Regions from separate parts of the Homo sapiens genome. Here region 1 is linked to region 2. The links are contacts of gene promoters, found by promoter capture Hi-C in blood cells and fetal thymus (Javierre and others, 2016). All regions are on one chromosome and are shown on one strand. The core of a region is centred on a gene start or on the middle of the fragment in contact, and the rest is flanking DNA. Distances in the headings are between cores, read along the strand shown.

Region 1 (3,279 bases), core at 555-3,054, 1.1 Mb before region 2:
AGCAAATCCAAGCCATTTCTTTTCAGTATGTGCAGAAGGCTCTCTTAAGTCCCAATGTGACCATGCCACAAGCTGGTGAATGACATCTGGTGGCAGGATAGGGTCCATGCTACTCCCTGGATTAGAACAGGTCCTCTGCAATCTGGTGCTGACATCTCTCCACTTCCCAGGAGTCCCTACATTTTCAGCTATGCTCAATGTTGTTCTCCCAAACATCACATTTAAAAAATCCACCACTTAGAACTCCTGACCTCAGGTAATCCACCTGCCTCAGCCTCCCAAAATGCTGAGATTACAGGTGTGAGCCACCGTGCTTGGCCTGGTCTTGCCCTTACTTTCAATGGCAAAAACAGCAATTACTTTTGCATCAAGCTAACACTATTTTGTCTTCCTCTGTGGACAGTGAAGTGGTTGAGAACAGGGACTGAGACTTATGTTCCCTGGTGCCACAGTGTTAAGCCCTGTATCTGGCACATCACACGTGTTGAATCCCTGTTGTTGAATGCGTGAATGAACACAGGGCATTCTGCACGATCACTTGGAGAAACTCGAGATGAACTCCTTGTGCCAGTTACAATTTCCAGAGAGATCAGGGTGTTAGGCTAAATCGGATTCTTAATATTTTTTTCCATCCAACACTGCTGTGGGTTATGGACCACTTCCTGAGTGGAGGGCTGTCTATGGCTCTCACATGGAAGAACACACTGGAGGGGTTGGAGAGGGCAACTGGAAGTGGTGGGGGCTGGGTTTGACACAAGTAGTTTGAAAAAGCCTCCTATTGTTTCAGGTGCCCTTCAGGTACAGCCTGTTGGTTGAGAATCATTGAGCTGGAGAGATAAGGTGCTAGGGCAAAATTCTAGGCAATAGTCCAGAGATGGACAGGGAATTTGAGGATGCTGCGCACAGACACAGTCTTCCTTCCATCTCTCAGGCTCTTTTGAAGACCATCCCTGAATTAGACCAATGAGAATGAATGGCACTATTTTCCCCACAAAAAACGTGTTCTTTTTCTTCCCCCATGAAGTCTAGTGGAACTGATACTGAGATTGATTACACATTTGAGTGAGCTCCTGGGAAGAAACAGGGAAGTTAGAATGTTTACAACTTTCCCTGCCCTGATTCATTTCAAGGACATGGGTCATTAGCCTCTGCCAGCAGACAGAGATAGGTGCATAAATTCCGACCATTTTGTGATCAAATGTGGGCATAACGTTTTTTGATCCTTGAGGTGATTGTTATTATTTACTGGAAATTCCATTATTAAATTCCAGCAGCAAAAGTCTTTCTCTTCTTTTCTCATAGTTCTCACTAATTAAAACCTGCTATTAGTCATTGTCTGGCTAGAACTTAACTACTGACCTAACCTAAGCCTTTTAAACAAGAAGCTTTTTATCACAGTTCTTCAGATACTCTGGCTTGTGAGTGGCAAATCCTCAACCCTGACACCCATGTGCATCACGGCTCGCTGTGAAAACACCCTTGTTAACATGTAAAACACCTCCAGTGCATTTTGACTATTGCAGCAAAGACCATTCGCAAAATGAAAAAAACAGACCCTAATATCCAGTTCTGTTGCTTCATAGTGTGACCTCAGAAAAGTAAAATGGCCTATTTAGTTCTCATTATCCTCACTGACAGGAGAGACTAGAACATGGCAGTTAGGTTTTCCTTTGCATGCCAATGTGACAGGCTGGTAGCAGTTTCTTGGAATGTTCTGCTGAGAAAGGATAGTGGGAAGTGGTGCTGTGTTTCATTGCTGATGGGATCCCATGGGTAAGGGATCATGAGTGGCAAGATTTACCAAGTGTTTATCAATTCCAGGTTTGCAATATCTTAGGCCTGTCCCTGTAGAGAGATACAGAGTGTGGTTAATGTTCTAGTTGGCCCTAAAGGCAAAATTGACCAGGCAGTAGTTCAGTATTTCAGTATGTTTTTTGTAGGTATACATCATCACAGCCTCCAAAAGATGTGGGAATTCCGAGGTCTTTGGTGCACTTCAGAATTTTTAATGTCCTGGATGACCCTGCCACTTAGACTGAAATAAAGTCCTTCTTGGTATGTGCTTATTAACCAGGCCAGGCTATTAGATTCCCAGGTCACCTGGTATATTGCTGGATTAGGGTAGGTGGGGGGACGAAGACCAGTGGCATCCCAGGAAGCAATGGGTTTTCTGATGGATGTAGTATTATTAGAGTACTAAGACAATTAGGATATATGTAATCTTTAAGCTTAGAAAGTATTCAGATAACCCAACAAAGAACTCATGTTAGAGGTTTTCTGAATCTTAGAGAGGTTATATAAGTGTTCAAAGTCACATGAGGTGGGGAGGAGGGAGCTAACATCTTTTAAGAGCCTGTTATAAGCCAGGCACTTTATGGAGTTATAACTCAATCTTTCCAACAGCCCTGTGGGGGTAGTAATATAGTAATAGTATTACATAGGCAAGAAACTGGTGATTCAGAGTCATGGAATAACTTTCACATTGTTGCATAAGGAGAGACACAGAAAGTCAGTCTTCCCAACAGTCTGGATTCTGATCATAGTACACTTTGTGTCAAGACTTCTGTCTATTTCCTAACTTCCCAATTCATGGGGACCCCAGTAACTTGATACTTCTGACAACCAGGAAGTGGTATTAAAAAAGACCCATTCGTGATAAAGATGTTTGTAAGCCAACTGTCAGTATAAATAATTGCTATGGGAATTTTGAAGATATTAAAATTGAAAAGGGTTTTTAAGCCATTTAGAAGTATTTTTTTATATTCAAGTAATTGACAAGCTAATCAAAACTTCTTTATTAACATCAGGTTTCCCAAGTACTTCTGTAGGTCATTTATTGCTCACCAACTTCAAGAAATATTTAAAAGCCATAAATAAGAGTTATGCTTTCTTTTAAAAGGCTAAGGACTGACTATACAAGAGGTTAATTTGGCTACCTAGACAAAGTAAAAATAAGGAAGAGTGGACTTGGTGCTTCCAAGTGAGTTGAGGATGATAGAAAACAATTAGACCTGCTCAATTTGCATTTCAAGTCTGTCTCTCTGTCCAGAGAAGGGTTTGTGTCCTGAAGAAGATAAAACCAACATCAGTAACAGGGAACAAAGCCATTTGGGAAATAAGATGATAAAACTATATGGAAACAACTTAAGTGGTTGTAAGTCTCAAGACCTTGGGCAATGACCCGGAAGGGTAGTGAGACGAGAACTTTGTGTGTGAGAGCTCCAGACACCTGCGTGTTAACCCTCAGCGTACAGAGGAAAACAAAGACGAGCAAAACAA
Region 2 (3,612 bases), core at 96-2,595:
ACAAATGCATCGGAAACAAATCAGAAGGCGATGCCGGGGCGGTTTCCCGGCGTGGGAGGGGAGGTGGCTGGGACCCAGGGGGACCGAAGGGCTCCTGGCGAGCCCCCTCCCCGAAAGTACCGCGGCGACAGGCACACGCCGAGGAAGTCTTTGTGTACGTGTGTGTGCGTGCGTGTGGAGCGCTGTGCCAGGCGAAATGGAAACTACAGGCAGCCTCTGCTGATGGGCACAAACTCCCGTGCTCTTGCCACGGGGTTCGTGCACAACAAAAATGAGACGTCGTCATACACACTGAAACACACACACACGCCCGCAGGAAAACACGCCGAGGCATCCATAACTTAGAGCACCCCGCACCCCCCAGCGAAAAGCCCCACGCGATCGGCGAGGCCAGTCGAACCGAGCCCCCGCAACACACTTTCAAGAGCCCAAGTGGCTCCAAAGTATCTCCCACCTCCCCCCAAAAAATGAAATTCAGAAAGGCAGGGCGGCGGGCGGACAGCCGCCGAGCCTCGGCTCGCGCTCAGCACCTCCCGGCGCTGGGGCAAAGTTGCGTGCGGCCCCGCCGCTGTCAGCCCCGCACACTTCGGCTCACACACGCGCGCCGCGGAGAACGCACCATCGTAGCGGCCGCGGCGCTTTGCGGAGGTGCGGCCGCCGAGGCTGCTCGCCGCGTCCCCGGACTGTGCCCGCAGCTCCCGGCGGCGGCGGCTGAAATATGGCTGAGTTATTATTCGCCTCCTTCCACCGTGTGTGTGTGTGTGTGTGAGTGCGCGCGTGTGAGCGAGAGGGAGTGTGTGAGTGCGCTTCTTGTGACTGCAAAGAGGCGAGGAGGGAGGGAGGCGCGGGGGGTGGAGGGGCGAGTGTGAGCGTGTGTGAGTGTGTGTGTGTCTGTGTGTCTGTGTGCGCGCCGGGGGGGGGTGGGGGAGGAGGGGAGCGGAGGCTGAGGGAGAGGCGGCAGCTCCCTGCAAGCCGTACCAACCTTTCTCTAATTGGAACCGCGGAGCGCTGGCGCTGTCTGGGCTGCGGCGGCGCAGGGCGAGGAAGGAAAGTGGGGGAGGGCTTTTATTATTATTTTTGCGCGTACTTACCGAGCTAGCCATGCCTGGGGGCCCGGAGGTTTGCTGGGGTGTTGTGTGGTACCCCCCCCTCCTCCGCCCCCCCTCAGCTGTAATTCATGAAGAGGCTGCTATGAATGAGAGCGCGCCCAGGAGCGGAGGGTAGATGGCGGACATTCTCTGCCTTTTTCCCCCCGCGCTCGCTTGCTCGCTCGCTCGCTTATTAAACTCAGCCCCAAAAGCAAAAGCAGCAGCAGCAGCAGCAGCTCCAGGGTAAAGAAGATGATTGCGGAGCATGCGCCGTGGCGCCTGACACCCGGGCTCCGAGCCTCACAGGGCGGAGGGAGGGCTTGCGGGCGGGGCGGAGCGCGCGGGGAGGCAGAGCGAGCGAGCCAGGGGGAGCTCGAAAGAGCCAATCACCTGCCACCTCCCGAAACCCCGGCGGCCCGCAGCGCCACACTGGAAAGCCTCGCTTAAAGTAACAGGTTCCTGCTGGGGGGGTGGCAGGGAGGGGACGCAGGAGTGGGGAGAGCGGCCAGCTGGGGAGCCATCCCAGCCCCTGTGTAAACTCTGCTCGCCCTACAATAAAAAACGGATTAAAACTGCTGGAATGTAGCCACTGCTTAGAGCCCTCAGCAGCCGGAGAGGGGGTGTTAAATCAAGTCCTTAGCTAGTACGCACGGGGAGGAGGGAGTGGGCTTTCTTTTACTTTCCACCACGTATTTCTGTGGTTTTGTGCTGAAAAGACAAGAACTCACACCCAAACAAACTTACTTAAAGAGAGCGAGAGAAATGCCATCCTGCAAAAAACGAGCATGAAAATAGCAATGACTGAGGCTGTTCTAACCCGCAACGATCCCCTGGCCCCCTGCCCCATCCACTCACAGGCACCCGCCCGCCACCCTCACTCCCCGCCCTTCTGCCACCGCCACCGAAAATTTGAAAATGAAATGAACAAGGGAGAAACAAGGATGCTATTTCCTTGCAAGGGAACGCCTTCCGCTTTGGTAATCCCCGGCTGGGAAGCTTCATAAAGCGGTGCCCAGGTGAAAGCAAGACACCTGGGAGTGCCGGGTACAGACCCTCGGGGACCAGGCTTGGAGTTGTTTTCTTCGGGGGGCTTCCCCTCCTGACAGCCTACTGAGTTGCATCAGAACGTGGAGGATTGTCCTCTGAGGACGCGCGGGGCAACCGGGAGTCTTAAAATAGCAGATAAAGTTAATACTGACTGTAATGTGCGTAAATTGGATTATAATCTTTAGGCGTATTGGTGACAACCAGCGTAATCCATCTCTGAGTATTAATCCGGTTAGACTCCCGGGTGACAGCCAGTCGCAGGAGTGTTCCCAGAGTCGCGCCTCTGCAAATGTTCTCACTCGCGTTGTATTTGATCTCAGTGGCCGGAGATAGAACAGCGCGGCCACGCGTGGGGCGCGGAGAGGAGTATCAACTACTGGCTTCCTTTACAGACGCAGATAACCTTTAAAAAGGAAACGGATAAGATCTAGACGATTGATTTGAAAGTGAAAGATGGATGTGACTTTGGTTCGTTAAAAAAAGATCCTTGCATCTTCCTAGCCCTTAGACCTCTTTTGCCTTCTCTTTACTCCCCTTTTTCCCTCGCCTTCCAACTTCTTGCTGAACCTTGATTTTTCCTTCTCTTCTCCTTGCCTTTCCTCTTTGTCCCTCTTTCTTTCCTCTTTGTCCCTTTCTTTCCTCTTTGTCCCTTTCTTTCCTCTTTGTCCCTCTTCCTCTTTCTGACTGAACTTCCTTGCTTTCCTCTTTTCCCTTTACTTCCCTTTTCCACAAAAGCAAGTTGTCTCGGCCCTTGAATTGAGAAGAGCAGAATAGCGGGGAGGACGTTACCTAGGGCGTCCTGTGTCCTCGCTGTTAATTTTCAGTTCTCCCAGCAGCTCTCACAAAGATCCTGGGAATCAGGTCGGACCACTTGGAACCAACCTTAGTTTCCAAACCAGCAGCCTTCCAACTCAACTTTTGATTCCCTAAAACTGATATTCCGCTGCCTGTCAGTTATAATCAAGAAACTTCTTTGGCTTGAGGTCCCCAGTTCTTCCCAGCCTTCTACAGGATTTAGCATAGAATGGAGCAAACGACTGAAGGTAGAAACATTTTAATCTAAATCCAAGGGCTTAGATTTGTCAACTGACACACATATACATAACTGCATATCATCCTGTAGGTATATGCGTCGCTGTGTCTGTATGTATGTACAAGGACTACGTTTATATTCGCAGAGACAAGCTGTGTGGGTAGTATCTACGTGAAGGGGGGACCTATTTATTGTGCATTATTAAACTTTTCATAAAATAATCAAATTTGAGAGCAGTCCTTTGTAATAATAGTATTGGAAACTAAAGGTTATCTGGACGTGCCATTAGTAAAGCCATTTCTTATTAAGAAGTAACCATTAACAGCGAGTGTAGCTCAGGACACAGGCAAAAAACAACAATCCCATTCCCCGTTTGAGTTCATTTCAGGGTTTAACTTCTTCCGGCGCCAGCCACCGGACTCTCTTGAGATTGTCTCCAAAACT

Evidence for each region. The method cuts DNA at HindIII sites, captures the fragments that hold promoters and counts their contacts. A CHiCAGO score of 5 or more calls a contact.
Region 1: a contact is called between a fragment that was not itself captured here and the fragment with the promoter of MLLT3 in region 2, in 1 of 17 cell types (M0 macrophages). The highest score is 5.3, in M0 macrophages.

Annotation. Positions count from the first base shown.
Region 1 is chr9:19,495,769-19,499,047 of GRCh38, forward strand. The region is part of intron 4 of LOC105375988 (a long non-coding RNA gene); the gene reads left to right. Among named protein-coding and RNA genes, the nearest start is that of MAP1LC3BP1, 34 kb to the left of the region's middle. The HindIII fragment of the contact is 843 bases long and covers 1,384-2,226 here.
Region 2 is chr9:20,621,154-20,624,765 of GRCh38, forward strand. It overlaps MLLT3 (MLLT3 super elongation complex subunit), which reads right to left and starts at 1,346. Exons shown (of 11, transcript NM_004529.4): 1 at 1,092-1,346. The coding sequence starts at 1,103. RefSeq lists silencers at 635-684, 755-904, 1,325-1,784, 1,805-1,944. The HindIII fragment of the contact is 2,564 bases long and covers 1-2,082 here.